6 separate regions of the Homo sapiens genome follow, and regions 2, 3, 4, 5 and 6 are each linked to region 1. The links are contacts of gene promoters, found by promoter capture Hi-C in blood cells and fetal thymus (Javierre and others, 2016). All regions are on one chromosome and are shown on one strand. The core of a region is centred on a gene start or on the middle of the fragment in contact, and the rest is flanking DNA. Distances in the headings are between cores, read along the strand shown. Region 1 holds the start of HS1BP3 (HCLS1 binding protein 3). Region 2 overlaps WDR35 (WD repeat domain 35). Region 3 overlaps LOC105374318 (a long non-coding RNA gene). Region 4 overlaps MATN3 (matrilin 3). Region 5 overlaps LAPTM4A (lysosomal protein transmembrane 4 alpha). Region 6 overlaps LOC105374317 (a long non-coding RNA gene).

The links. Contacts are between HindIII fragments. The CHiCAGO score rates a contact against its expected background, and 5 or more counts as called.
Region 2: a fragment that was not itself captured here is called in contact with the fragment with the promoter of HS1BP3 in region 1 in 1 of 17 cell types (fetal thymus); the score reaches 5.3 in fetal thymus.
Region 3: a contact is called between a fragment that was not itself captured here and the fragment with the promoter of HS1BP3 in region 1, in 1 of 17 cell types (M0 macrophages). The highest score is 5.6, in M0 macrophages.
Region 4: a fragment that was not itself captured here is called in contact with the fragment with the promoter of HS1BP3 in region 1 in 1 of 17 cell types (naive CD4 T cells); the score reaches 5.8 in naive CD4 T cells.
Region 5: a contact is called between a fragment that was not itself captured here and the fragment with the promoter of HS1BP3 in region 1, in 1 of 17 cell types (naive CD8 T cells). The highest score is 5.1, in naive CD8 T cells.
Region 6: a fragment that was not itself captured here is called in contact with the fragment with the promoter of HS1BP3 in region 1 in 1 of 17 cell types (M0 macrophages); the score reaches 5.7 in M0 macrophages.

What each region holds. Positions count from the first base shown.
Region 1 is chr2:20,647,981-20,653,107 of GRCh38, reverse strand. HS1BP3 (HCLS1 binding protein 3) reads left to right here and starts at 2,010. Exons shown (of 7, transcript NM_022460.4): 1 at 2,010-2,076. The coding sequence starts at 2,045. LOC105373466 (a long non-coding RNA gene) reads right to left here and starts at 1,826. Exons shown (of 2, transcript XR_001739320.2): 1 at 1,756-1,826; 2 at 908-1,133. RefSeq lists enhancers at 1,592-2,329, 2,414-2,563, 2,584-2,663 and a silencer at 1,744-2,333. The HindIII fragment of the contact is 7,312 bases long and covers 1-3,481 here.
Region 2 is chr2:19,957,177-19,962,303 of GRCh38, reverse strand. It overlaps WDR35 (WD repeat domain 35), which reads left to right. Exons shown (of 27, transcript NM_020779.4): 11 at 1,690-1,750. Among named protein-coding and RNA genes, the nearest start is that of WDR35, 30 kb to the left of the region's middle. The HindIII fragment of the contact is 2,030 bases long and covers 2,863-4,892 here.
Region 3 is chr2:21,328,864-21,333,990 of GRCh38, reverse strand. All of the region lies in intron 2 of LOC105374318 (a long non-coding RNA gene), which reads right to left. Among named protein-coding and RNA genes, the nearest start is that of TDRD15, 210 kb to the right of the region's middle. The HindIII fragment of the contact is 1,237 bases long and covers 1,351-2,587 here.
Region 4 is chr2:19,994,341-19,999,467 of GRCh38, reverse strand. It overlaps MATN3 (matrilin 3), which reads left to right. Exons shown (of 8, transcript NM_002381.5): 6 at 2,209-2,334; 7 at 5,059-5,127. WDR35-DT (WDR35 divergent transcript) reads right to left here. Exons shown (of 3, transcript NR_110235.1): 2 at 191-262. Among named protein-coding and RNA genes, the nearest start is that of WDR35-DT, 6.7 kb to the right of the region's middle. The HindIII fragment of the contact is 260 bases long and covers 2,134-2,393 here.
Region 5 is chr2:20,042,417-20,047,543 of GRCh38, reverse strand. All of the region lies in intron 1 of LAPTM4A (lysosomal protein transmembrane 4 alpha), which reads left to right. Among named protein-coding and RNA genes, the nearest start is that of LAPTM4A, 6.6 kb to the left of the region's middle. The HindIII fragment of the contact is 940 bases long and covers 2,748-3,687 here.
Region 6 is chr2:21,240,719-21,245,845 of GRCh38, reverse strand. All of the region lies in intron 1 of LOC105374317 (a long non-coding RNA gene), which reads right to left. Among named protein-coding and RNA genes, the nearest start is that of TDRD15, 120 kb to the right of the region's middle. The HindIII fragment of the contact is 337 bases long and covers 1,974-2,310 here.

The DNA of each region.
Region 1 (5,127 bases), core at 761-3,260:
TACCAATGTCCAGCCACTCACAAGAGCCAAACCATAGTGGTATCTTATCTCTTCCCGCCCACACCCATTGGATTCCCAAGTCTTGACCAACTCCTTCTCCTAAGGCCCTCTTACCCGTCCCCTCTTCTCCACCTGGGTGGCCATCACCCTAGTTCATGGGACCATTGTCTCTTGTCTGGATTGTTCTGCAGTCCAGCTCATCTTCATACCTTCAACATGCTCCAAAACCCTGCCCACGCCCTAGCTGGCCCAGCCACTCCTATGTCCCTGACCCTCTGATGGCGCTGTGTTGGCCTCAGGATCAGGCAAAGCCCTGGCCTTGGTGCACTAGGCTGTCCACACCCTGGCTCCTGCTGGCCTCTTCCCCCTGTTCCCTGGTGTTCCTATCCTGTCGCTAGGGCTTTGCACGTGACATTCCTTCTAATCTATTCTATCCATATTTCTTCAGGTTTTCCCTTGGACTTCAGCTCCTTTAGAAAGCCTTTCCAGACCCCCACCCACTCCCCATGTAGGAGGGCAAAGAAGTCCACTGAAGGCATCTAAAGTGTCTTATTCACTGTGTTTCTGTCTGTTGGATAAATGTGAGTGCAATGGTGACTGCTCGACTGCCTGGCACTACACTCAGACTCCTGGAATGCTGAAGCCTATACTGCTTTCTGTCCAGACCCTGAACTCCCTTTCTCTAAAGTAGGGCATGCCAATTTAAACAAAACACGGAGGACCATTTGCAGCCATGAACACGGCCCTGCAGACGGACAGGCCGATGAGCAGCAGAGCAGACAGGGGTTCCCGCCATCATCCCAGCTCTTCACTGCAGCCTTCAAGGGTCTCCCTCAGAACTTTCATTCATTGTCATACTTCATTCATGATTGCTCATCTTGCCTATAAACAAATCTGAGACAAATAATAAGGCATATCAATGTCCGTATTTATTCAAGAGATACATTGGGGAAAGTCATTTTTCAAAATCTTTTACTGTAGGATTTCTTCACTAAAATCTGTAAAAACTGGTAGATATTGTTGGTGATGCTGGTGGCGGTGGTTGATAGGCTCAGGAAACATGGCTGACATCGCCCTGCCGTGAATTCTGGTATAGTTAAGCCCAGCTTCTCTTTCTTTTTGTCACTGGGGCTCTGGGTGGAGGGAGTAACAGAACAGGGGCAGCAGTTTGCACCTTCTGCTGGCCCTGTTTGCAGACTCAGCTTTTCTTTCCCTGGGCTACGTTGGCAGGTGATACGATCTCTCTGTTCCTCACCCCATGGAGAGGTGAATCTAAAATGAGTGGGTCTGTTAGGGTCTGCATGTCTGTACGTTCCCCTTCTGAGGGGAACTGGCTCCTGGACCCCGTTGCCCTGCTCCAGCTGGGGACCCAAGTGCAGCCATCCCAGGCAGGCCCGGCCCCGGGAGGCCTCCACCAGGGCTCTGCCAAGCAGCAGAGGCTGCCTCTCTAAAGATCCCCTGTCGGGAGAGTGCCTGCCATTTATGGAGCGGGCAGGCAGTAGGAACCAGATAGGCGAGCTAGCTGGAGGCAGCAAGCTCAAGGGGACTGGGCTGCTGCGTGGCGTTCACTGTGCAGCTTGAAGAAGACCCCACGAAGCCTGGACAGAGCCCCAGCTTGGTAAATATTTGTTGACCGATCGGTTGAATGAAATGGTCTTGGGGCAGAGGGGGAGTGGTTTTGTAATGGGGACTGGCGGCGGAAACAGCAGAGTCCCGTCTCTCTAACGGCTAAACTTTAGCGCAAAACAGACACACCGATTAAGGTTCACCGTGTGCCAGGGCCAGGCTGGGCTTCTTCTAGGTGGTTGCGGCGGGCGCGGCTCAGCCTGGGTGCTCCGGAAGCTCCGAGCAGCGCAGGCCGACGGCGACCGTGCGGGACCCGCCCAGCCGCGCTTCCGCCCCGCCTCTGGCCACAGGCGCGAACTGCGCGGCCGCTGCCACCAGGGGGCAGGCCAGGGCAGCGGGAGGCAGGGCGGGGACGCGGTGACGCGGGCACTGCCGGGTCCCGTGACTGCGCGCCCCGCCCGGAGTCCCCGCCGCCGTCATGCAGTCCCCGGCGGTGCTCGTCACCTCCAGGTGAGCCAGACCCCCGCGCCCCACACCGCACAGCTCGCAGTCCGGGGCGCCCGGGCGGAGAGGCGGGGGGAGGCCGCCGCCTCCTAGGCCAGGGACCTGGTGCAGGTCTCCCCAGCGCCCTCGGTGGCTTATCCGGGCTGGGCCCCTGCACCGCCCTGCAGGAGAGGTGGCGACCCCGATTTACAGATGAGGAAACCGAGGCCCTCTGGAGGGTAGAGAACTAGCCAAGGACAGCGGGAGCCCTGGGACTGACTGGTTCAGTGCAGGCGGGCGCAGTGGGGACTCTGCTCTCCTTTCCTACCGCCTTGGGTTCTTCTCTTTTGAGCCCGAAAATCTAGTTCCCCATCCTTTCAGAGCTCCCTGAGTCCCAGGCCCGGTGCTGGGCACTGGGGACAGAGGCGAATCAGACAAGCTCGCCCTGCAGGGGGCTGCAGCGGAGAGGGGGTGATGCCAGCAGCGGGTAGTAAGCTCAGGTTGCCATGGGAACACAGTACAGGGCAGGAACCCGGTTTCTGGGAGGATGAGTTTGATGAGAGACCAGGGAGAGGTCGTTGCTGCTTGCGAGGCAGCTCAGGAGAGCGCAAGTTACAGCAAAAGCCTTGGAGGGGTCCAGGCGGAGGATGCAGAATGGGTCGGCCCTGATCGAGACCTGGAGGACCCAGCCCAAGGTGGATCCTGGCAAGGCTGGGAGGCACGTGCTTTTACTTCTTTCCGCCTTTAAAACGCTGTAAAGTGATTTACTTCAAATATTTTCATACACTTCACCCTTGCTCTCCCTACACAAAGTCTTAGGCTAAGATGCCAATTTATGACATAAATGAACGTGTTACCCAGCCAACTGTTGATCTTCCAGTTGTAATCAGGAATTCCCCGTGACTTCAGGTCTAGAAAGGTATGATTCCTTTTGTAAACCCTGATGTCGGAGGCTGCTTGGTCTTTCATGATCAAGTGTGGTTACAGTTGTATCTTCATGGGCAGAAGAGGTTTCCCTACTGCCACTTACGTCACCTCCTCTCACCAAGCCTCAGTTTCCTTTTCTGTGAATTGGAGGTTTCAGATTGGCAGGCATGAGCAACGTCAGTAGTATATGCCCCTCAGCCATGTGCAGATGGATGGGGTGTGACTTTGGTGCTGGGTGCTTGGGATGGGGTGGGTGGCTTCCCTCCCTGCCCCGCTGCACAGCCTGGACGTGGCTTGTTAACAGATGTGGGGGCGCTGGCGGTGGTAAGGCCACATGAGTCAGGCTCATTTCTTGCTGAGGGCACCAGCACACCCAAGGATCTTGCCTGCAGGGTGAGTCCAAACGCCTTAGCCCAGCAGCAAGGCCGGCCCTTCCCAGTCGCACCCCAGCTCCTCTTTCCAGCCCGATCTCCTCCCACATGTCATTGCCACATGCACTCAAGCTTGAATTCAGCCAGAAGGTGTTTATCGAGAGCCTTCTCTGTACCGGGTACTGGCCCTAGTTCTAGGAGACAAACAAGTCCCTCTCGTAGAGCTTTAATGAGGGCACAGGCCCAGTGGGCAAATCTACGACATGTCAGGGATGATACATGCTATGAAGGAAAACAAAACAGTGGGGGCAACAGAGTGGTAGGAGGCATGCATGCTGTTTTCTATGGTGTGGTAAAGAGGCATCTTTCTGATGGAGTGGCGCCTGGACAGATCCCGGACAAGCTCCATGAGGGAGAGAGCCATGAAAAAGAAATCTTGGAAAAGTGTGTACTGGGAGGACAGGACAGCAGGAGCCAGGGTCCCGAGGCTGGTATGCTGGAGTGGAGTGAGCCCAGGGAGAGTGTTAGGTGATGCGGTGAAGAGGCAAGCTTGGGAGTGAAGGATGATCAGGAAAGGCCGAGAAGGCTGTGGAGGGGCCATCAGATTTAATTTCAAGTGCAATAGGGCCCAACTTCTGGTTTATAGAGATCCTTTGGCTGCTATGCTGAGCATGGGCAGTGGCCGAGCTGAGCATTCAGGACAGGCTTGTAGGTTTCCATGTAGAGCCGGTGGTGGCTTGGCCCGGGGTGATGGCGGCCGTGAGGGTGAGAAATGTTTGGGTTCTCGATATATTTTGAAGATTGAGCTTTCAGGTTTGCTGATGCTTGGATATGGGGTGTGAGAACAAGAAGAGAAGTTAAGACTAACGGCAAGTCTCTCAGCCTAAGCTGCTGGAAGAATGAGGCTGCCCTTTAGCAGGCTTGGGGAGAGGTAGAAGCAGCATTTGTGTAGACAGGTGAGTTTTGAGAAGCTCGTTGACAGCCCAGTGGGGATGTCAGGCAGCTGCAGCTGGAAGGAGGCTGGCTGTGAGGGGAGAGTGAGCTAAAGATGGGAGTTGGGGAGCCATTGGCTCGGAAATGGTATTTAAAGCCTGGAGCCTGGATGAGATCACCTGGGGAGGGGTACAGTGAGAGGAAGAAGGAGGGTGCTCTGGATGCTATCAAGGGGAACCATCCAAAGCAGTTCCTCTCCTCCTGTTTGAGCAAGAGTGGCCAGGGTGGGCAGAGAAGAACCAAGAGTGAGGGGGTGCTCCAGCCACCAGTGAAGGCAGAGCTTGAAGGAGGGGAGTGGCTGACTGTGCCCACTGCTGCTGACAAGTCAGACCAGAGGAGAAATGAGGATTCACCTTTGGATTTAACCACATGGAGGTCGCAGATGACCTGGGCGTGGGCAGTTTGTTGCATGATGAGGACCAAAGTCTGGCTGGAAAGGGTTCAAGATCAAACAGGAGGAGAGGAACCCATGAATATGGGGCCCTCTGTTGAGGAGTTCTGCTGGAAAGGGCAGGAGGGAAACGGAGCAAGGGGAATGTCGGGTCAAAGCACAGCTTTTGTTACATGAGTGGTCAGAGCATGGTTGCATGCTAATAAGCGTGGGCCAGTAAGGAAGGAAAATCGATGGTGCGAAAAAGAGGGGTGAGCTGCAGCAGCTATGTCCTTCAGTAGGTGGGAGGGCCTCGGAGCCGCTGCCCTGGTAGAAGGTTGGCCTTAGGAGCAGCCAGCCAGTTTGTCTACAGTCCCAGGAGAGGGCAGCTATCAGGGAGCAGCTGCAGGCTGATGG
Region 2 (5,127 bases), core at 2,628-5,127, 690 kb after region 1:
GGTGCAACGGTAACAAATGAAATTAGCTCTTATATAGCTGATCATAGGATAAAAATGAGTTTTGAGGTTATAGCTGATCAGAAACTGTAGCAATATGAGGGGACTTCAGAAGGTTCATGGAAAAATGGAATTAACAGATAAAAATAAAAATAGAAACTTTATTTTTCAACATAAGCTCCATCAAGGTCAAGACATTTTTGTAAGCAATGATAACAGATATTTAGTCCATCCCTAAAGAACTGAGGGTCCTGGGAATTTAACCATGTCAATGCAGTCTTTTTTACATTATTAACTAAAGATAAATGGGTACCCTTTAAGGATTTTTTAAGATTAGGAAACAAAAGGAAGTCTGGAGCCAAATCAGGACTGTAAAGTGGATGGATGCCTAATGATTTCCCGCCAAAACTCTAGCAAAATTGCCCTTGTTTGATGAATAGAATGAGCAGGAGCATTGTCATGGTGGGGAGAGACTCTGGTGAAGTTTTCCCAGGCATTTTTCTGCTAAAGCTTTGGCTGACTTTCTCAAGACATTCTCATAGTAAGTGGACATTATTGTCCTTTGGCCCTTCAGAAAGTCAACAAGCAAAATGCCTTGAGCATCCCCCAAAACTGTCGCCATGACCTTTGCTCTTGGCGGTCTGCTTTTGCTTTGACTGGACCACTTCCACCACTTGGTAACCATTGCTTTGATTGTGCTTTGCATTCAGGATCATACAGGCAAAGCCATGTTTCATCTCCTTTTGCAATTTTTGAAGAAATGCCTCAGGTTCTTGATACCACCTGTTTGAAATTTCCATTTACTGCTCTGCTCCTGTGTGCAGCTGATCTGGGTGCAACGGATTTGGCACCCATTGAGTGGAAAGTTGGCTTAACTCAAATTTTTCAGTCAGAATTGTGTGAGCTGAGCCAGTTGAGATGTCTATAGTGTTGACTATTGTTTCTGCTGTTAATTGTTAGTCCTCTTCAATTAGGGCAGAAACAAGATGAGATTCATTTTTTCCTTGCAAATTGACATGGATGGTCTGCTGTTGCAGGTTTCATCTTTACTTTGTCTTGTCCCTTCTTAAAGTGAGTTGTCCTTTTGTAGACTGCTGATTTCTTTAGGGCATTGTCCCCATAAACTTTTCATAAAGGATTGATGATTTCACCATTCTTCCACCCAAGCTGCACCATAAATTTGATGTTTTTTCTTGCTTCAATTTTAGCAGAATTAATGTTTCTTTGACAGGGCTTTTTTTCAAACTGCTGCCATCTCCTTCTTAGTGCTTCAAACTAGATCCTGTTCAAACATGTTTTAACAAGTTAGTGCACGTTTATTTTGATGCAAACAATTTTTAAATCCATGCTTATTTTTTCCATAATACACATTTTCCATAAACTTTTTGAAGACCCCTTGTATAAATGATGAAAAGTAGCCAGAGTACTTGTGTTTCTTGTGTCTTCTTAAAAACCACAGTGTTCCATTACATTGAGAAAGCAGCCTTGGTTTAGTATTAACTGATCTTTCTTTATATTTAATGCTGTAAATCATCTTTCTTTTTGTCTGCTATTTTTTGCACGTAACAGTTTCATCAGTTATTTCCCAGTTAGCAATACTTGAAAAAGAGATAAGCATGATATATATTAAGCATATTTCCTTTATTATTCATAAGCAGGAGTTCTGATACTTTTTGTTTTATTTGTTCACAGTTTGTACTAGTTCTTTGTAATTCTATTGGTACACCCTTGGATCCCAAATACATTGATATTGGTAAGGAAATGTTGATATTTATTTCTTTTCCAATCAGGTTTTATTTGTAACACTAATTTAAAAACCTAACACTGGTATTATTAATTAGAATGGTGTTTTCTAAAACGAGGATGACCATACTTCCTACTTTGTCAGATCCAGTACCAGTTTATATCTGTTACCATGGTAGAATTCTTAATATCCCATTTTACTCTCAAAAGTATCCTGGTTAAGACAGTAAATTATAAGGTTAGTCTATCTAAAATCCATTATAATTTCACAACTGCTATAGTACCATCATTCGCTTTAAATGGGAAATATAATTGTGTAGGAATTGGTATGCAGCGTAATGATTAGTATGTAATAAACTGAGGATTATAGAAAGAATTTTGCTATTAAACCACTTTCATTATTAATAAACTGCTTGTAAATACCTCTCTTCCATAAAAACACTTTGGCTGCTTGTAAAAGTGAGTTTGCCCTTTCCAGATTTTTCTAATGAAATGAGTCTATTAATAGGGACAGTTTTAAAAATTCCTGACTTTTTGTTTTCAAAGGACTTTTGTTACTTTAGATTTACTATTCCCTCTACCCAATAACTATGAAAGTAACCCATTAAAAATTCCAAATCTTATTCTAAGTAGATTATTAAAAATCATTAACAAGTATTTTGTTGCCATTTCACTGTAACTTCCAAAAGTAATGATTTTCTTTTAATGTGTATGGTAGTATATTGGATACAGTATTGTAAAAATTATTAAATCTAAGAAATTAAAAACCCATTGCATTATTCCTGAGAACCTGAGAACTAGTCATTTTTTTTTCATATTGGACATTTAGCCTAAGCAATTAAGTATTAATGCCTGTTGCCTTTTGAGTGTTTGCATTTTGCTAAGTGTTTGTTGAAAAAATTGCTAAGTGTTTGGGTGATAATAGCAAATATGAGAAATAATGACCTCAAAGACTTTATACTCTATGGCTTAGGGTCTTGATAACCTACTCACTTAGATATATTGACACATTTCAACTTCATGTCTTACATTCATTGCTACATAGGCATGTTTATATGTTTTATATGTGTATATATTTATATACACATATATATACACATTAGTGTTCCTTGTTAAAAAGCTTAGCTTAAAATTATTAACAGACTCTCATCACATAAATATCTCTTGTTTATTAGAAGCATTAACAGTCTTTAAGAGGTAAATTTTGTCAGTCTTCAGATTATATGCTTTTTCTTTTAATATCCAAAGTTTTAACATAGAATCATAATGGTGATAGGGTTAATGTCAAAGTAATTTTTATCACAAGTAGACTGTTTTTTTAAAATAAAGCTAAATGTAAATCCTTCTTCATAAAATGGCAAATACTTGAGAGCATGACTATTTGTATTTTTGAGTCTCAAAACTTTTTTTTTTTGTAGTCTTGCTGACTGAGATTTTAACAAACAGTTCTTTCATTGGCCTGCAGTGAACACAGCCAAAGACTCAACATTTTTGTTTCATACATATCCTGTAAAATTTCTTTTTTAAAGTTTCTATGCCAAATGTTTATGAGGACTAGAGGCTAAAATAAAAAAAGTCTGTGAGTGATACTCTTCTAGAATTTATTATTTTTGTTTTGCCACCTACTCTTCCTCTTTATAATTTTTGTAGAAACTTTAAAATGAACTTTATAGATTATTATAGAAGTGTAGTTTGTGGGACTCTGTTATACTCTACACATGAGAGTTAGGTATCCTTTTTTGGTGTTCTTTTCTTGAGCACTCATAATACCTTTGGTGTGCTTCCATCCAAAATACCTCTTAACCTGCACTGTGGTTACTAATTTTCTTGTCTATCTTCCCCACTAGACTTTGAACTTCTTAAAGATCTACGTCTAATTAACTTCTGTATCCCCATGACCTAACACTGCCTTGGCCCATAATAAATGTTTATTGAATGCATGGAAATTATTTATTTTCTATCATGTAAATAAAAAATGATGATTCATTTATTTAGCAAACTATCAATGAGTATATACTGTTTCAGGTACTGTACTGGTCACTGGGAATAATAAGAAATTAATTATGACATTTCCTGTGGGATTTCTGAACAAATAATTAAAACCTAGTTAATTCATTGAACAGTGATTTATTGCTTCCCTACTGCGTGCTAGGTATTGCTCTAGGTGCCAGGTAAATGGTTATTGGTGCATAAGGACATCAGAGACATCTTTCTACTTAGAGAAGGTTTCATTTGAGCTGAGTTTTGAAAAGTAAGTATTTCTTTAGGTGATATTTCAAGGAAAGAAAACGGCATTTGCAGAGGAATGAAGGCATGGAAAGTGGCCATCAAGTACCAGTTTGCCTATGCTGCAGCCATTTTAGTGGGAGCACATGGGCAGCTTTCTAATGATGGTATCTAACACGTGCACTAGGTTTTCCATATATTTTAGAGAAAGTTAATTTGATGAAAACATTTCAGTGAAATTTCAATTTACCAGCACTTGAAAGGGCTGAGAAATGAATAAATGGGAAAGTGGGTGAACATTACAGATGTAGGCATTTATTTCATGCCTTAGCATTAAAATATTACAAGCAGGTTTTATTTATATGTGAATTCCAAGATTGTTTTAAATTATTTTACATCCTTGCTTGGCTAGTAATGACTGCCTATTAGCATTACAAAGTTCAGTTAATGAAAGCATAATTATTTTCTTAAAAACTTTTTTTCCAAGCTGGGCATGGTGGCTCACTCCTGTAATCCCAGCACTTTGGGAGGCTGAGGTGGGTAGATCACCTGAGGTCAGGAGTTCAAGACCAGCCTGGCCAAAATGGCAAAACCCCATCTCTACTAAAAATACGAAAATTAGCCAGACATGGTGGCATGCACCTGTAATCCCAGCTACTTGGGAGGCTGTGGCAGGAGAATCGCTTGAACCCAGGAGGCAGAGGTTGCACTGAGCAAAGATCGTGCCACAGCTCTCCAGCCTGGGTGACACAGCAAGACACCGTCTCAAAAAAAAAAAAAATCCAATAACCTTTCTAGATATTTCAAATTTTTTTCTTTTCAGATATTGAACAGTCAAAAAGGGCATGGAGGGCCTTCATCTTGGCTGTGTTCTTGTCCTAAAACATTGTATCTGTTAAGATTTTGTTTTGCTTTTCCTAGAAGCTTAGTCTAGATGGGATGAATCTTAATAAAGATCTAGCAAAATATGTATAGATAGGATTATCTACCCATATGAATTTGCTGAAATTACCACCTTACTGATTCAAAAGAACATATTTTTCAGATATATTTCTATTTTTTGTAGTAACTGAGAATTTATATATGGTTTTATTATAAAATCCTATGTAGGTGATAAAAGTGAAAAGAACAATAGCAACCATGTCTAACTAATACTTCTTA
Region 3 (5,127 bases), core at 720-3,219, 680 kb before region 1:
AAGAAGCCTTCCCAGCTGCTCAAGTCTACAATGATTTCCCTCTTATCTGACTACCAGGCAGGATTAACGTGACTTACAGCACCTGGCACCAATGTGCATCCATGTGTATGTGGGCGTGGGTGTGTGTAACCATGACACTCTCTCATAAAAAAAAAAACAAAACAAAACAAAAAAAAACAGCAACTAGCAGTGAGCTGGCATGCAGTAGGTCCCTAACTGAAATATATGAGTAGAAGGCAGTTGAAGATGGTGATTTGTATGTGTTGTGTTCAGACAATGTAGGAAATCAGTCCTTTGACAGCAAAAGAAGAAAAGAAAAAAAATAAGACGAATCTTCATGGTTTGCATAAAAGTGTAACTATTACAGGTGGCCCAATTCCCAGTTACTTTGTTCCTGACACCAGAGACCTGTTTTTCAATCAAAATTGCAGCAGCTGTGGAGCTGTAAGGCTGGGCTGGCACCTGGGTCAGAGGTTCCCCATTAGTGCTGGCAGATTTTTCATAATCAAGACACTTCTGAAATGCTGAACCCTACGCAGTGCCAAAGGTTAACGATTCAGTGTGCAGGGACTGAAGCGCAAAGCAGGGCATCAGACAGCTCGGAGAGTGACGCCACCAGTGGACCTGTTTTTGCTGCTCCAGTTACATTCTTGAATCTATTGGACATTTGCCTCCTTGCTGAAGAGTCATTCTGCAGAGAACACTCATTAAGCAGGCTGCATTAATCCTGTTTTTCTAACCCTGGTTCATGTTTATGCATTTGACAGTCAACATTTTTGAGCAGTCCCTCTGTACACCATTGAGTCTGGTTATGCACATGCAAAGAGAATTGGAGAGTGAAGGGGTCACCTGCTGAGTTCAGTGTAAACTGGCAATCTAGACAGTTTTGCATAACAATTACAACTTGCCTGTTGTTGCAAAATATTAGTGGTATATGAGAGACTACTTCATTCCACTTCATCCCCACTGATGTGTGCTGTTTCAGATCATGATTAGTGAGCAAAATAAACTAAAATTAATTTTGATTAAAATTTGGTGACATTCCTTAAGAAAACTGGTGATAACCTGTGGTGTCAGAGCTGGGGATAATTGTTTCAAGAAATCAGTCTCTCTATAATCCATTAAACTTTTATATCTCACTGCTTTTTTTTCCTTTCAAATAACATTACAGAGGATGTTTTATAAAACATATACAGCTCCTCGGCTGTTCTTGGATATCCTACTGTCATTTAAAACTCAATATATTCCAAAGAGAACTAGCCAATCCCCTACTTCCCCTGCCCCATATCATTTCTGGCCTTCTTTGTTTTTCCATTTCTACTAATGATTTCATTCTGTAGCTTAAAAGCTTCAATTTCCTTCATTCAAAATACCAGCTTAGCCTTTTAAGTCTAATCAAACTTGAAAAATGGTTCCTATAGAACAGGAAACATTTCCTATGCTATAGTATACTATAGGGTTCTCCAGAGAAACACAATCTATATATATTCTATCTGTAGCCTATGTATATATATCCTCTATAGACACACACGTGTGCACGCATATATATATTTATATCCTGTATATAAATTTTCTATATTTTATATGTATATCCTATATATAAAGAAATTTATTATAAGGAATTCGTTCATGTCATTAGGAAGGCCAAGTCTAAGATCTACAGGGCCAATGTCATAGTTTAAGTCCAACAGCCAGTAGCTGTGATAGAGCTGATGAAGAGCTGATGTTTCACTCAAAAGGCATTCAAACGGGCTAATCCTTTCATATTTGAGAAAGGGTCAGCCTTTTGCTTTATTCAAGCCTTCAACTGATTGGATGAGGCCCACCATATTGTGGAGGAAAATCTGCTTTAGATTAAGGTTAAGATTTTAACCTTAATCTAATCCATTAACACCCTCACAGAAACTCAGAATGTTTGACCAAACATCTGGACATCCAGTGGCCCAGTCACATTGACCCATAAAATTAGCCATCACAATATGGCTCGAAGAAGTAGTATTTTATCCCTTCTTCTTGGGTGATCTCAGAATTTCTTCTACACTGTTGAAGAGACTTGGCTAGCATTCCTGCCTTCAGTCTCTCTCCCTCTCTGCTCACAAGAGTACTTCCAGACTAGTCTTTGACATAATTGTATTGCACTACAGATAAATCACACTGACCTCTGACTTCCTGTCTCCACCTGGCTTCTGCTCCAGTTTCTCACTCCCAGAGACTTCCTTGATTCCAGCCTATAGTTTTTCTTCTTTTTTGGAGTTTTAGAACTTCTTGAAAGTGTGCTGGAAGCCAGGCCTTCCTTGAGTTCCAATGTGACCACCCTGTGCATTTAGTTTTCCAATATGAAACTAATATAGCAATATATATTTATTGTGGTTATTGTGTATATTTCTACAGATACTAGATATTTCTCCCTTTATGGTATATATTTCTCTGTATATATAGTCATATACCTATAGGAAAATACACAGATAAAGTCTGGAAACAAAGACCACTCAAATGAGAACAAGCAAAGATCATTCAGAGCTTGCTAGAGCAAGGACATTACTTCCAGTTCAGAGACACTAAAGGTAGGCAGTGGAGTATAAAAGCTTTATAATGAACAAAAAGGGAAGATTCAGATATGCCACTATTGGAGGTTTTTGGCATAAGGGAAGCTGGAGGTAGGCTCACTAGAATCAGGGCATCCTGTGTAATTGGAAAGGAGAGCGTATTTAGCTTCCCCTGGTTAGTTCTAAACTGGAAACAGGGCAAAAGATAGTGCAGCTGGCAGTTATTGATTCAACTCCTGACTGTTTGGGGCTGATTGCTACAGAGGTTGTGGTTTGTCCTTCTGGACTGATTGCTACAGATTGCGAGTCAGAGTTCTATTTTTATATACGGTCTGGCCATTCTCTATTTGTAAAATCAGTTTCTCAAGAGAGAGACGAGACAGAGAGAAATTCTGATGAGATTAAGATAGTATTAGATCAAGGCTTAAACCACCCAATCCTGTCCTAGAACACTACAATGTGAAAGGTCTCCGAGTGAAATAAATACATCCAGAGGGTAAGGTGCAGCTAGATCATACTGATACCTGATGTTTGGTCCCAAGCCCTAACATGTGGCTCTAATGAGCAAGAGGAAGGACTGTTTTTCCTTGTGCTGGGGAAACCAAAGGCCCTACCTTCTCTGCTTCTCCTAAGCCTGGATTGGGATCTTGCCTCCTACTACTTTAACATAAGGAAGGAGAGTCCATGCCAGGCTCCAGGCACCAGAGAGAAGGACAAAGAGAAAAAGATCGCAGGAGAGAATACTTCCCCAATGGCAACAGCTTCTGCCCTCTTGTCCATGCCTGCTTTCTCATATACCCACTTCTAGGAGGAGAAGAAGAAGAAATAGTCAAAGATACAAAGTGTCATTTTAATTCCGGCAAGACAAAAGCAAGAGAAGAGTCACCCATATCTGAGCAAAACCTTATAATTACACAAAGTTATTTTACTTCCTAATATATTACTCAATAAAATATGCCCAGATTTGATTCCGCCAGAGAGTCTGGGGTGTTTTAAACTCCCTCTTCACAAAAGCTAATATATAAATTAATTTTTGCAGTTTTTCTCTGTTTTTTTTTTTTTTTTTTACTAACAGCCCACACTTTTCCCTTGTCATTTTTTCTCTGAAAAGACAGTTTGTTAAGGTTTTACAGAACTACATTACAGAACTAAACCAAAATTTAAGCAATTCCCTACTATGAACATTTATGGTTTTTTTCCTAATTTTCACTATAAAAATAATGTAGTACTAGGAATCCTTATGCAATAGTCATTACACAAATCTCTGATTATATCCTAAAGAAAAATTCCTGGAAATGGAATTACTTGCTGAAAGTTCTGGACATTTTAAGAATACATATTCTTAAGACTTAATACATGCTTCCAAATTACCCTGCGAAAATGATTATGCGAAATTACACCCTCAACAGTAGAGTAGAAGAGAGGCCAATTTACCACAACCTCTTCGCAGCTTTTCTCTTTGCAAAGTAAATAAATGAAAAAAATATGTTATTTTAAATTCACATTCTTGTTGGTCACTTACATTTCTTCGTTTAAAAATGGTTTATAAACTTTATATATTTTCTACTAAGGTACTCATTTTTATGTTGATTTATAAAAGGGCATTTAACTGAATTGGAATTAATTTTGTTACACGAGGTAGAAATCTAACCTGAGTATGCTCTTCAAAGGTAAATCAACTGTTCTGGTTCTAATTGTTGAATAATTAATTTTTCCAAGGATCTGAAATACTATCAAATCACATGAATGTATATGTAATTTAGGGATGTTTTAACACTTTTTATTTCATTCATTTTTCTATTCTGTCTTTTACAATACTTTTTCCTCTTGAAAGATATCACTGGATTTTTCAGTTTTGTACATTGTCATAAACAGTAGGGCAGGTAACATGTATGTCTTTTACACAATTTTCTTGAATAATCTTCACTCATTCTCCTAGGTGAACTTTAGAATAATCATATCAATTTTTAAATAAGCAAACACTGTGACTTTATTTGAAATTGTGTTAAAACTATAATTTGCAGAAAGTTGACATGGTTACAGATCAGTCTTTCCTATCTATGCGTAAGGTGGATCTCTCCATTTATATAAGACATCTTTTATACTGCTCATTAATGCTAAGTGGTTTCCTTATACATCTTACCTTTTTAATTAAGATTTCTTTTTGGGCTGGGCATGGTGCTCATGCCTCTACTCCCAGCACTTTGGGAGACTGAGGCTGGTGGATAGCTTGAGCCCAGGAGTTCAAGACCAGCCTGGACAACATGGCAAAACCCCATCTCTACTTTAAAAAATACAAAAATTAGCCGAGTGTGGTGGCACACACCTGTAGTCCCAAGTACTTGGGAGGCTGGGGTGAGAGGATCACCTGAGACCAGGTAGGTGGAGGCTGCTGTGAGCCATGATCTCACCACTGCACTACAGTGTGGGTGACAGAGTGAAACCCTGTCTCAAAAAAAACAAAAAAAAAAAGGAAAAAAAAAAGACATTAGATTTATTTTCCTTGCTCATGTGAATAACATCATCATCTATTATTTTTCTAATTGGTTAATGTTAAATTATGGGAAAGAGAGTGCTTTTT
Region 4 (5,127 bases), core at 1,014-3,513, 650 kb after region 1:
AGAGGGACTGATGGAAACAAAGGGCTGTAGAGGCTGGGGAGGTGGGCATCTGCGAAGGGCTGGTGGTGGGCCTTGAAGGAGGGTGAAGGTTTCAATGGAGACAAGTGGAAAGTGGCACTGGCGGGGGACTGGCTTGAGCTGATTTGTTCAGGGCAGGATGACTAAGAAAGTTGGGGTGGAGAGAACTCACCTATGGCTGCACTTCTCAAACTAGTGACAAGTGTCCCAGTTGGTACTTTAAGCTGCCAGGAACATTGAAGACCTGGGAAAACAAACCAAAAACAAATTTCCATTTAAACTAACAGATAGTATGGAATAAAGTGAAGCAATCTATTTTAAAAAAAAACATAAATCAAAGAAAATTTTCAGTTAAGGCAGACAACACTCCCAGATGCCAGTATTCCATATTCTTCAATACCTACTGTAGGCCATGCAGGATTCTAGGCATTTTAGATACAGTAATGTACCTTAATACTCACAGCAACGTTAGGAGGAAACTGATTCAGTAACTTGCCCATGGTTACTCTGCTAGCAAGTAGCAGACCCAGGGTTTGAACCCAGGTACTTCCTCTAGTGGTTACATAGGCTCTTAACCACTAAGCCTTACTGTCTTAATGTACAAAGCACAGGACAGTGAAGAGGGACAGAAGAGAAAGAATACTAGTGGGAAAGTTAGTTATATATATATATATTTTTTTTTCTTCTCTTTTTTGAGACAGGGTCTCATTCTGTCACCCAGGCTGGAGTGCGGTGGTGTGATCTTGGCTCATACAGCCTCTACCTCCCGGGCTCAAGTGATTCTCCCATCTCAGCCTCCTGAGTAGCTAGGACTACAGGCACATGCCACCACACCTGGCTAATTTTTGTATTTTTTTGTAGAGATGGGGTTTTGACATTTTGTCCAAGCTTGTCTTGAACTCCTAAGCTCAAGCAATACACCTGCCTTGGCTTCCCAAAGTGCTGGGATTACAGGTGTGAGCCACTGTGCCTGGCCTATTTATATATTTTAAAGTAATAGTGAATACTGCTATAAAGCTGGGGAACATACCATGGATCAGATCCCTTCTAATGGTCTGCTTTTCCGTTGCTAGTGGTAGGAAGGCTTGTAAATTAAATGTGGAGCCCCAAATAAGGGCCAGGGGCTGGAAGCATGTCCATTTGCCACCTGTAGAGTGGGTACTAACCTGGAATGAGGGGGAAAAAAATGAAACACCCTGCTATAAGGCATTTTGCTGAAAAAAAAATCTAAATTGTAGCACTGAAAGGGAATAGCCATATTAAGGTTGGAAAGGCACTTTATGTATAGATTATATAGCGTCTCACATTTCACAAGAAGCTATTCTATAGGCATTAGTGAGCCACAAAAGGTTCTGCCCATGAAATGACATTTAAGAGGAAAATTAGAGGGAAATAAACTATTTTGGTTCCTGCAATGGCAGAGGAGGAACCTATGTCTTCCAGGAAGGCTTTCTGGATTTCAAAGGAGAATTACTGTTTTATTTGTCCTAGGCCAGTCTGAACATGGGATGAGTATGGCACTTTGCTCTCCTCTCCACTCAAATTTGGGCAAACTGCATTTGTCCCTGAAATGTTATTTGTGATAGATAGTAAGTACTTCACTCTCTAATCATACACATCATCATTACTAACCCTGTATCATTTCCCCATCTGTGCTTGTGTGTGTGTGTGTGTGTGTGCATGTGTCTCCTGGTCAGTCTTTTCTGTTACACTTTGTAAGCTATGAAGGCAGGCACTTGGTCAATATAGTGCTTTTTGTGCAGCATCAAACTTAGCTCCATGTATGATTAGGTCCCTAAAACATTACTTTTGGTGATGATGATGATGATCCATGAGTAGCTGGGGATGCTAGAAGCATTGATAGTCATCGGGAAAGGCTGGAGGTAAGTTCTGGAATATAGTCAAGACTCAGTGCTGCCCAGTGCTGTGGGTAGAAAAAAAGGAAAGGTACCCTTAGATATCTGTGAGAGATATAAAGGAAAGGAGTGTGTGTGATGTGAGGCCAAAGGGATGAGAGGTATGGGAAGAGAAAACAGGCTTGCTCCTGCAGCATGGGGCCTGTTGCTGACTACTGACTACTACATTCTCAGCACTTGTGGGGACCAAATGGAAGCTTCTCCTCTCAAACATTTGTGTTTACTTTTCTATTTAATGTGTGAATATTTTCTTTCCTGCACCACGTGCGGTCAGTCCGTGACAAGTGTGCCCTAGGCTCTCATGGTTGCCAGCACATTTGTGTGAGTGATGGGGCCGCATCCTACCACTGTGATTGCTATCCTGGCTACACCTTAAATGAGGACAAGAAAACATGTTCAGGTGAGGATCAGCCCTTTAAGGCTATTTCCTTTGGTAGGAAAATTTTTCAGGAGCAAGCTTTTTTCTTTCTGTCTAAGACACAGTTGTGATTCTTTCTCCCTGTCAGAATTCTCCAGTGGCTCCCACTGGTCTACAGAATAAAACAATGATACCCCTATACCAGGCAGCCTACCCTCCATGATCTGTTTCTGTCTTCTCTGTTTTTCACATTTTTCTTAATAACTAAACTTTCTGCCTAAGTCTGAATTTTTTTTATTGTGGTAAAATACACATACAATTTACCATTTCAATTATTTTCAAGTGTATAGTTCAGTGGCATTAAGTACATTTACATTGTTGGGCAACCACCACCAGTATCCATCTCCAGAAATTTTTTATCATCCCAAAATAAAAGTCTGTGCCGATGAAACAATAACTGCCCATCACCCGCTCCCCTCAGCCCATGGTAACTACTTCTCTCATCCTGGCTTTTAAAACTTTTCTACTACATTTGCCCCCAGATTCACTGCTTCTTCCTGCATCCTGGTCCAGCCACAGTGGGCTCTTTGATGGTCCAGGAGCATGCCCTGCACTCACTCATTCCCACCCTCCCCTCAATGCTTTTGCTTGTCAGAATTTGCTTGCCAACATTTGGTTTTGTTGAATTAAATTTTTGCCAATCCAGTGGATGTTTTTTTCATTTCCTGGTTACTAATGAGGTGAGGCATCTTTTCCTGGAGAGTACTGCCATTTTAACAGTCTTTCATTGCATTAACATGGTATGTCTTTAATTTAATTTAATTTTATTTTATTTTAGGTCTTCTTTAATTTCTTTCAAAATTGTTTTGTAGTTTTCAGTGTACAAGTCTTGTACTTTTAAAAATATTTATTCCTAACTATTTTATTCCTTCTGGTGCTATTATAAGCACCATTTCTCCATTTCTCAACTTTCAATTTTGCTACAACCCAGGTTTGAGAAATGGAGTTTGAGATCCATTTCTCAACTTTCAATTTTTCTACAATCCAGGTTTACAATTTTCTATGAAGTGTTGTAATTAAGACTATCCCACTGAACCCATGCCCTGCTAGAGCTTAGAGACTATCAGGCACGACAGACACTGAACAAGTATTATATATACCCATCTTATGGGTACAGGGATAATGGACATGTAGTTGATCTTCAATAGATACTTCCTGGTTTATTGACTGATTAACTAAGATGGGATTTGGACTGGCTGTCCCTAAAAGGTTCAATAGGATTCAGACAGGTGGATAGATGATAGATTATATTTAATGAATTTATGATCTCCCATCCCTATATTGGATCTTTGTAAAATGTTAAGAGTAAAAATGTTGCAGCAAAGGACCATTTCCTGTCCTCAGGCAATAGAATTACTCCATTGGAAGATGATACACCAGTCTTCAGACCTGGGAAGTTACTCTTATTTCTATTCACAACTTTAGGAGGAGCCCTGATACTGAATAGGAATAGCTGCCTGACTGAATTCCATAAAGAAATAGGAGTTACTTTTATCACCTCTCATATTTGGTTAAATGTCAATACAAACGTGAATTTTCAGTTCCAAAGTATTTATTGGTAAGAACTAGGACTCTTACTTCAAACCATTAAATAGAATAACAGTCCTCTAGAGGAAATCAGGACTTAACCTGGTTTTTATCCTTTTTTTTTGTTTTGTTTTTTGAGACGACATTTCAATCTGTCACCCAGGCTGGAGTGCAGTGGTGCGATCTCAGCTCACTGCAACCTCTGCCTCCCGGGTTCAAGCAATCCTCCTGCCTCAGTCTCCCGAGTAGCTGGGATTACAGGCATGGGCCACCACGCCCAGCTAATTTTTGTGTCTTTATTAGAGACGGGGTTTCACTATGTTGTCCAGGCTGGTCTTGAACTCCTGACTTCAAGCGTTCCACCCACCTTGGCCTCCCAAAGTCCTGGGATTACAGGTGTGAGCCACTGCGCCTGGCCCTAGTTTTCATCTTTGGTATATTTTAGCCATACAAATAGAGGACTATTGTCCTAGTTTTATTTTTATTTATTTATTTTTAAGAGACAGGGTCTTACTCTGTTACCCAGGCTGGAGTGCAGTGGTGTGATCATGGCTCACTGCAGCCTTGAACTCCTGGGCTCAAGTGATCCTCCTGCCTCAGCCTCTCGAGTAGCTAGGATTACAGGTGTGTGCCACTATGCCTGGCTAACTATTTTACTTTTTTGTAGAGACAGGGCCTTGCTTCGTTGCCCAGGGTGGTCTTGAACTCCTGGCCTCAAGTGATCCTTCTGCCTCAGCCTCCAAAAGTGCTGGCATTATAGGAATAAGGCACTGCACCAGGCCCATTTTCCTTTCTTAATTACACAGTATTACATAAACATTGTCTTATTTCTATATCCCTGGCCTCCCCCTATACCAACCATGTTTTTCTAAATTTACTTTATATCATGAATAATTTCTGGCAATCACAAAAGTACAGAGAATAAAATAAGGAACCCTCACTTAAGCATCACTCAGCTTTGACAATTATAAACATTTTCCCCAATGTATCCTAAGATGAATTTTTCTGTGATAAGTATTTTCTCGTCTTTTTGTTTGTTCATCTATCCCTTTACCTCTTGGAAAATGCACTTAGGTAAGTCTTAACGGTGGAAATATTCAACTGTGGATTTCCTGATTTGTTATGATTCCTATATAGCTATTCCTAGATAGTATATTTGTGTACTGTCATTGTCTTCAGCCACTGAGGAAGCACGAAGACTTGTTTCCACTGAAGATGCTTGTGGATGTGAAGCTACACTGGCATTCC
Region 5 (5,127 bases), core at 1,968-4,467, 610 kb after region 1:
TAATTTTTTGTATTTTTAGTAGAGACGGGGTTTCACCTTGTTAGCCAGGATGGTCTCGATCTCCTGACCTCATGATCCACCCGCCTCGGCCTCCCAAAGTGCTGGGATTACAGGCGTGAGCCACCGCGCCCGGCCTTTTTTTTTTTTTTTCTTTTTTGAGACAGAGTCTTGCTCTGTCACCAGGCTGGAGTGCAGTGGTGCGATCTCGGCTCACTGCAACCTCCGCCTCCCAGGTTCAAGCGATTCCTCTGCCCCAGCCTCCCAAATAGCTGGGACTACAGGCACCCGCCACCATGTCGGGCTAATTTTTTGTATTTTAGTAGAGACGGGGTTTCACCGTGTTGGCCGGGATTGTCTCGATCTCCTGACCTCATGATCTGCCTGCCTTGGCCTCCCAAAGTGCTGGGATTACAGGCGTGAGCTACCATGCCCAGCCAAGCTTTCTTTACTTCCTAGCCAGGGGGATCTGTTTTTCTCACGGTGCACCTGCAAAAGTTTCTGGATCCTTCTTGTATGTACTTATTAAATAGTACTCAGTACACATTGGTAGGATTGTCCTTTTCTCTTATTTTTCTCTCTACAGCAAGATGTTCTCCTGGAGGGAAGAGGGTGATGTCTTTATAAGGGCAGTGGCTCACGCCTGTAATCCCAGCATTTTGGGAGGCCAAGGCAGGTGGATTGCCCAGGAGTTCGAGACCAGCCTGAGCAACATGACGAAACCCCCTCTCTACCAAAAAAAAATATATATTATATTATATATATATTTATATATTATATTATATATATATTTATATAATATATATTTATATATAGATATATAATATATAAATATATATAAAACATATAAAAATATATATACACACACACATACATACATATATATATTAGCGGGGCATGGTGTGGTGGTGCATGCCTGTAGTCCCAGCTACAGGGGAGGCTGAAGTGGGAGGATCACTTGAGCCGGGGAGGCAGAGGTTGCAGTGAGCCTAGATCGCAGTAACTACTCTCCATCCTGGGTGACAGAATGAGACCCTGTCTCAAAATAAAATGTGTGTGATGGCTAACTTATTAATTAAAACATTTGAGGTGTTCATTACACATTTGTTGAATGAATGTCTCCTCCAAAAAATATTGTGAATACTCAGTTGTATCTGCATGTAACAGTAAACAACAACAAAAAACTTTTTTTTTTTAAATTATACTGTAAGTTCTAGGGTACATGTCCACAGCGTGCAGGTTTGTTGCATAGGTATACATGTGCCATGTTGGTTTGCTGCACCCATCAACTCATCATTTACATTAGTTATTTCTCCTAATGCTATCCCTCCCCCAGCCCGCCACCCGCTGACAGGCCCTGGTGTAGGTGTGTGATGTTCCCCACCCTGTGTCCAAGTGTTCTCATTGTTCAGTTCCCACCTATGAGTGAGAACATGCGGTGTTTGGTTTTCTGTCCTTGTAATAGTTTGCTGAGAATGATGGTTTCCAGCTTCATCCATGTCCCTGCAAAGGACATGAACTAATCCTTTTTTATGGCTAAAAAACGTTTTAAAGATAGTCAATTTTGATCTTTATCAGATAACAGGCTTTGCTTAGTTCTGTAGATTGACCCTCCTGTGGGTGCTTTCTCTGCATGGGAAGCCCTTATCTGGATGCCTCCTTAAACCAGACACACTGTTTTAATTATTATCTCAGTAGATACTGGCTCTGGGCAAATTACTGTGGGAAAACTGAAAAATGATTTTTTTTTTAAAGTCTCCAGAGAATCTTCTGGAATAGGTGTGGCAGTGAAAGAAGAAAACAAAGAATTCCTCTCTTCAGGCCCTGTGCTTCCATGGATCTGATACAGTTATTTTGTAACAAGTCAAATCTAACAGATTTCTTATTGTACACACTTACATAAGATGTAGAAGCTTTCAAAAACAATGCACACCACCTGATTTGACTGATTAAATTTACAGTACTGTTAACACATTGAGTGGTGAATCCGCAGCCCATGCTGCTAAAATATTGCTGCATTCTATACCTCTCCATATTGCCAAGTTTAGAAGTTAATAATTTAATCTTTTTTTTTTTTTTTTAAAGAGATGGGGTCTTGCTATGTTGCCTGTGCTGGTGTGCAATGGCATGATTATAGCACACTGCAGCCTTGAACTGGGCTCAAACAATCCTCCCACCTCAGGCACCTGACCAGCTGGGACTACAGGCACACACCACTGTCCCCAGCTTAATCATTCTTTTTAAATTACATTTTTATTAACTTTCTTTCCTGAATACAGTGAAAGGAAAAAGTGAATCAGGAATAAATATTTGTAATAGTTAGTACATAGTTGGATATTTTCAGAGAAATTTTGTATTGTAAGATTACAGTTAATTTTATGTATTTTTTGAAAAGCTAAACATGTAATTTAGAAATATCAACTTTAATCAGAGATAAGTTGCCAGGGCTTACATGTGAGCACAAGGTAGGCGTTCGTTGGTGAATATCTTTAAGATCAAAGGATGCCAGGAGCGGTGGCTCGTGCCTGTCATCCTAGCACTTTAGGAGGCCAATGCAGTAGGATCACTTGAGGCCAGGAGTTCAAGACCAGACTGGACAACATAGTGAGACTCCATCTCTACAAAAAAAATTTTTTTAAGTCACAAGGATGGGTTTTCCAGTGTAATACTTTAAGATGTAAGTTGGGGTTCTAATGAAATGATGTGATCTAATGGAATATAATTAACTCAAAGAAGATTTGGAAAAAGCTTTTAATGAAGTAGCATTGAAATTTATTTCACTGTTTCTTGGTCCTTCTGATTGGCCCTACGATTTATTTTGTTTAATATTTAGTGGTATGACCCACAGTGAAATTAAACTTGAAGTGTCTCTAGTACTAAAAGAAGATAATAGTGGATGAGCGTGTGACTTATCCATGGAAGAGAAGAAAAGTGAAGAGTTCTTTTGTTTTTTAAGAGACAGACTTAGTATTGTTGCCTAGGCTGGTCTCCAGAGCTCAGGCGATCCTTCCCACCTCAGCCTCCCAAGTAGCTGGGACTATAGGTGTGAGATTTTTAGAAATCCTTCATGTAATAAAAATATTTAAGAAGGGAAAATAGAACTCCTAAATGTTTTTGGCATGTCATTCCCTTCATTTAGTAATTGGGTTTGCATGCTTTTCTTGACAAAGGAATTTCTGTACCGCAGAGAGCTTTTTCACTGTGACTATGCTGTGTTTAGCAAAGAAGAGTTTGCCTAATTGATTTCAAACTGATTTCCATACACAGAACATATAACGTTTTAGTAGATATATCTGATAGTTCAGTAATTAATTCACCTAGTTGTATTAGCTCATACTCATACACCACACACGCTGGCCAAAACCCATTGCAGCAAATGTGGGCAACAAAAAAAATCAGCTTTCAACTGGGGAGAGCCACCTTGCAAAAGTGATTGTTCCTGGTAAGTCCTCTCAAGAATTGAAAGATATCATGCCTTGCCTCTGAACAATGCAAGGAAAGAGGCTTGCTGCTGAACATAGACAGTAAAGTCTAAACATTTTATAGCCTTAGATAATGGTTTCTTTGGGAAAGACCTTAAAATAGGAGTTACTGGGGAATGTTTATTAATAATCACGTAGTGCTGAGAAGGAGGATGTCTTAAAAACCAGACTTGTGTCCTGATTCTCCCATCTGTCAGCTCAGCAAGCTTAACACAAGTTATATAGCTTTACTGAATCTTAAGTTTCCCCATCTACACATAGGCTTTGGTAATACTTACTTCACGGGTTGTTGTGAGGAATAAGTGAAGTAATACACGTAAATACACATGTCATAAAGCATATCCTCAATAAATATTGGTTGATTCCAAATTTCATATTGTGGCATTGTTTAGATCACCTACCCTAAAATAAAACTTGATCTGCTTATCTAGCGGATGTTAGTGAAATGACTTCAGCTGATAAAAGGAAAATGCATTTCCTGTGTGTTTATCATTCAAGGTGAAACAGGAGAGAAGTATATAATAGTTTGTTTAAAATACTATCGATAGCTGGCCGACACAGTGGCTCACACCTGTAATCCCAGCACTTTGGGAGGCCAAGGCTGGTGGATCACTTGAGGTCAGGAGTTTGAGACCAGCCTGGCCAACGTGGCGAAACCCCACCTCTACTAAAAATACAAAAATTAGCCAGGCTTGAATGGTGCACGCCTGTAGTCCCAGCTACTCGGGAGGCTGAGGTGTGAGAATGGCCTGAACCCAAGAGGTGGAAGCTGCAGTAAGCCGAGATCGTGCCACTGCACTCCAGCCTGGGTGACAGAGCGAGGCTTGGTCTCAAAAAAAAAAAAAAAAAAAAAGGTCCCAGCTACTTGGGAGGCTGAGGTGTGAGAATTGCTTGAACCCAAGAGGTGGAAGCTGCAGTGAGCTGAGATTGCGCCACTGCACTCCAGCTTGGGTGACAGAGCAAGGCTTGGTCTCAAAAAAAAAAAAAGTCCCAGCTACCCCGGGGACTGAGGCAGGAGAATCGCTTGAACCCAGGAGGTGGAGGCTGCAGTGAGCCGAGATTGCGCTACTGCACTCCAGCCTGGGCGACAGAGCGAGACTCCATCTCAAAAACTAAATAAATTAAAATACTACTGATAGGAACTTAACCCTTGAAAATTCCAGATGTTCACATTTTCACAAAGGGAAGGAGGGCAAATTCTGTGAACTTTACTATGCTAGATAAGGAAGCCTAACTCCAATCCTACGTGAGATTTCTGTCTTGAGTCGTTAACAATACTCTTTCTGAGTACTTAAATGCAGTGAAGCCTCCTGGGATACCACAGGGATTGGCCAACAACTACAGGCACAACTCATTTCCTTTTAAAATGGATTTACAACCCTGGGAGACTAGGAAAATTCAGATATTATAATGGGATTTCAGCAGGCTGTTCCTCTAAAGAGCTAAACAATTTTATTCAGAAGTTGCTAGTTAATGGGAAGGGGCAGCCTCTGGCAGCTTTGTCCTCACCTCTGTTCTCTTTTGTTAGTAACTTAGATGGAAATACTGATTACATGCTGATCCTAAATTCAGGAAGTTGAGACAGTAAATCTGTAGTGTGTCAGAATCCACATCCAGAAAATCTTCATAGGCAAGAATGTAATAAGAT
Region 6 (5,127 bases), core at 893-3,392, 590 kb before region 1:
AATCATGTCTCTCAGGGCTGACTGACACGTTTGTGCTCTCACCCTTGTGAGTTTTAACAAGCAATGTCAGGGCTCTATCATAGACCATGGCAAACCAGCATGAAAGGCTCTGCTTATCATAGGAAGCCAGATGAACTTTTTTTTCTATAAGAGGATGGAGGCAGGAGAGTTTCTGAGCCCAGGGGAATCACAACAAGGGAGATCAGTAGCATGAGTTTGAGAAGCAGAACTCTGTCAATCTATCCACAAGCAAAGTTAGCTTGTCCCTATAAGAAACTGATGATCAGATACATTGTGCACTTTCCTACCAGCCAAAAGAATTGGCCTGCCGCTGTCTGGTGTTTTCAAGGCAAGCTCTCACTTTCTAAAGAACGAAGGAGCCAAAGAATGAAGAGATACCAGAAGTAGGGATTTAAGGGCTGCTCTGGAAATACAGATCCAAGAGAACCACTAGGTAGTCAGTGCATTCATGGAAGTAGCACCTAACTCTGCTTCCTTCTGTAAAAGAAGGGCATTTTTCTGGTCCAATATGGCCACAGATAGGCAGTGAACTAACTTCAAGACTCATTGGTGCAAATATTCTTATTATGAATCTCTGGGATTCCTTCAAATACATTTCTTCAGGACCCCATAGGTTCTAATCCAGTTGAATTGACTGGCCTCTTCCCGCTAAAAGATCTTCCTTACTATATCAAATTGACCACATTATAAGGTGTCAAGATCGCTAGAGTTAGGCATCTTGTCCCAGTCCTCTCTGTGACCCTCAGTGTCTGACCCTAAGGAAGTGCTCACCAAAATAACTGGGAACTGACAAAGCAAATTTCTCAGTGAAAAAAGAAAAAAAATTTGGGCTAGAGATCCTATAAATCCTTATTGAAAATATATGCAGAAGAGAGTTGTGCCCTTAAATAATCATTATGCATTATTTTTATGGTGTTATGATTTCAATTTCTTCAAATGAGAACATTCCTTTTTATTATAAAAGCATGCTCTTTATTTATGTAAATCCAAAAGATACTGACATATTTAAGGAAGTGAATACAAGTGCCCTGGAATTCCATCCTTCAAAGACAATCAGCACTAACACTTTTTTGCTGTTTCTATGTAGTACTATATTCATACATATTTTTGAATGCCTATACACACATATTCTTAAAATGAGGTCATTCTCTTTATACTATAAAGCTGACTTTCTTAATATAATATATTGTGGGCATGTTTCCATGTAGGTACACAAATAATTACCTTATTTTAGACAGTTTCAAAGAATTTTATCATATAGATGTAACAATTTGTTTAATCTCTATAAACAGGTGTTTAGGTGATTTTCATTTTTTGTTAGCAAAAACATTGCTACAAATAAACACCTTTTGCATAAATTCTTGCACGCTTGAACAGTAATTTCTTTAGGATTTGTTTCTAGAAATAGAATTGCTGAGTAAAAAGTGATGTAAATTTTAAATGTCAGGTCTTGCAAAATTGTTCTCTAAAAACTGTGCAATGTGTATTTTCAAACCAGAAGTTGAAATGCCTGTTTGCTTACACCCTTATCAACAGTGGATATTATCAATCCTTTAAATCTTTAGCAAGACAATAAGTGAAAAGTTATATATTATTGTTGTTTTAAATTACATCTTTGACTATGGAACATTTTTTCAGTTGTTTATTGGCCTTTTTGTACTTTGATAAATTACCTTTGCATGTATTTTGCTCATTTTCTCTTGGGTTGTTCATCTTTTCACTATTGACTTGTAGGAATTTTTTATGCTTTTAAAATGTTAACTCATTGTATGGCATATTAACTATATATGGTTCCAGTTTATGCCTTGTGGGTAGTAGATACATGATAAATATTGGTTGACTGAATGAATGAATGTTATAATTTGTCATACAGAAATTCTAGATTTTATGAAGTCAAATTTGTGTTCATTTCCTTTGTGGTTTCTGGCCTTGGTGCCAAGCAATGAAAAGCTTTTCTACTGAAAAGATTAAGAGGAAATGTTCTTCTCATAATAGGATTTCTGAAAAATTTAATATTTAATCCAGCTGAGCTTTATTAATGTGTAAAATGGATTTCTTGCTAACTCAGGCCAATTCTTCCAAGATCATTGACTAAGAAATCAACATTTTTCCATTGATTAGAAGTGCTAGCTCCATCATATATAAAACTCTAATATAAACTAGGCTCTGTTTGTGAATTTTCTCTTTTCTTTCATTTATCTACATATTCCTATGTCAGTACCATATTATTGCCACCACATTTACTTCGCAGTATACTGTGATATCTGGTAGGGCATATCCCCCCAAGCTTTTTTCCAAAAATTTTCTGCCCATTATTATTTAAATTTTCCTTCAAGAAGAAAGTAAAAGTCAATTTGTCAATATTTTAAACACTTGAAAATGGTATTGAATTAGCACTAAATGTATAGAATATTTTGGCCAAAATCAACATCGTCAGAGTAGTTTTCAACTAAGGAAGATACACAGATTTTTAAAAATCAGCTCTCCACAAATTTGCATGGCTCTGAATGTATCAATCATTTTTAAGCTAATTACAATAAAGTCTAATTATTACCATTAAATTATTATATCCATTTGACATCAAAGATTGAATGCTAATTATAAAACAAATTTATTCTACATTGACATTTGTTTCCAGTTACTGGATGACAGCTTTGTTCAAATATGACACCTCGTTGAAGACAGGTCCTCTAATAATTAAAATATTTGTGACCTCCCTAACAGATAAAACTTCCCCCAAGAGTGGGCCCATGATGGGAGGTATACTTTCAGGTACAGGTGATTATAATAGCAGTGATGATAGGATTACAGAGTTGTGCATATTTATAGTGGGCACACATGGGTAACATCTGATCAGTTTATTCAGTCTTTCTAGAAAAATGAGGCTTATGGGGAACACTGCCAATATCTAGGGGAACAATGTTGGGGTTTTTGTAGGCTATTATGGTCCAAAGTTAGACCCATCCTGAAGTTCTTTTATTCCTTCCCTGTCTAATGTGCATTAAGATATTAAGCAAATGGGAAAAAAAATCTCTAAAATACAAATTGAATGAAAGTTATTTCTGCTCTATAAAACCTACCACATAAAGAGGTGTGCCTTGCATAGTTAAAAATCCTACTGGAGAGACTAGATTTGAGTACCAGAATTAAGAGACCTGTGGCATTCCTCACTTTAAGATTATCCTAAAGTATTCAACCCTCTCCCCCTTGCCTATCTTATATCTGTAATGAAAGGAAATTCAACAGGGAAGGAGGTCCCAGAGAGATTTTGCAAGTAGGGGCACAGACATGCAAAGTTTTAGCAGTAAAAATAAACAAGGCAAATATGTAATCAGTGGCTTCCAGTTGGGAAGTAATGAAAGATAAAAATTGAAATACAGGATAATGTATAATCACAGATAGACATGAATCTCAGTCAAATAACAAAGGAGAAAACGGTCCCTCAAGCAAAGAAATGAAGAGTCTCCATACGGAGCTCCTTGACATGAGACAAGATTCAAATAGAATTAAAATATAAATATTAGGAAACACTATCAAATCTAGATTCAATCATTCTTTCATTTTTTTCAAAAACTGTTTATTGCATAAGAATTCAGCAGTGACCAAATTCCTGCATAGAACTTTCATGAAGAGAGGAGAGAGTCGGAGTAAACAGTATACAAGCAAATACGCAAATATAGTGTTCTGTCATGTCAAGAGCTAGGAAAAAAGGTCAAACAGGATAAGGAAATAGGGAATTGTAAGAAGGTGTTATTTTAGCCTGGTGGCCAAGGATAAGCTCTCAGATGAGACGGACAGACCTAAACAAAATCAGTACATGAGCCACATGAATATCTGAAGGAAGAGCCTTTAAGATAGAGGATATAGGAGAGGCAAGGACTCCCCAAATCAGGAGGGCATAGGGCTTGGTGTGGCTCATGGAAGCAGTAATTGAGTTGAATGGTGGAAAATGAGGCCAGAAAGACAGCTATGGGCCAGAGTACAGAAGTCCATATAAGACTTGGTAGGTATCTGGAAGGTGAAAGATCTCTACAATGAGAATTACAAAACACTGCCCAAATAAATCAGAGATGACACAAACAAATGTAAAAACATTCCACGATCATGGATAGGATGAATCGGTATTGTTAAAATGGCCATGTTTTCCAAAGGAATTTACAGATGCTATGTGGTTCCTATTAAACGACCAATGACATTACTGATAGAACTAAAACAAACTATTTAAAAATTCATATGGAAGCAAAAAAAAGAGCCTGAATAGCCAAGGCAATCCTATGCAAAAAGAACAAAGTGACAGGCATCATGCTACCCAATTTCAAACTATACTACAAGGCTACAGTAACCAAAACAGCATGGTACTGTTACAAAAACACACACATAGACCAGCAGAAAAGAATAGAGAGCCCAGAAACAAGGCTGCACATTTAAAACCATCTGATCTATTCACAATAGCAAAGACTTGGAACCAACTCAAATGTCCAACAATGATAGACTGGATTAAGAAAATGTGGCATATATACACCATGGAATACTATGCAGCCATAAAAATGATGAGTTCATGTCCTTTGTAGGGACATGGATGAAGCTGGAAACCATCACTCTCAGCAAACTATCGCAAGGACAAAAAACCAAACACTGCATGTTCTCACTCATAGGTGGGAATTGAAAAATGAGAACACATGGACACAGGAAGGGGAACCTCACACACTGAGGACTGTTGTGGGGTTGGGGGAGGGGGGAGGGATAGCATTAGGAGATATACCTAATGCTAAATGACGAGTTACTGGGTGCAGCACACCAACATGGCACATGTATACATATGTAACAAACCTGCACGTTGTGCACATGTACCCTAAAACTTAAAGTATAATAATAATAATAATAATAATAATAATAATAATAATAACAAACCATCTGATATTTGACAAAGCTGACAAAAACAAGTGGTGGAGCAAGGACACCCTACTCAAGAAATGGTGGTATGATAACTGGCTAGCCATATGCAGAAGATTAATACTGGTCCCCTTCCTTACACTATACACAAAAATCAGCTCAAGATGGATTAAAGACTTAAATGTGAAACCCAAAACTAGAAAAACCCTGCAA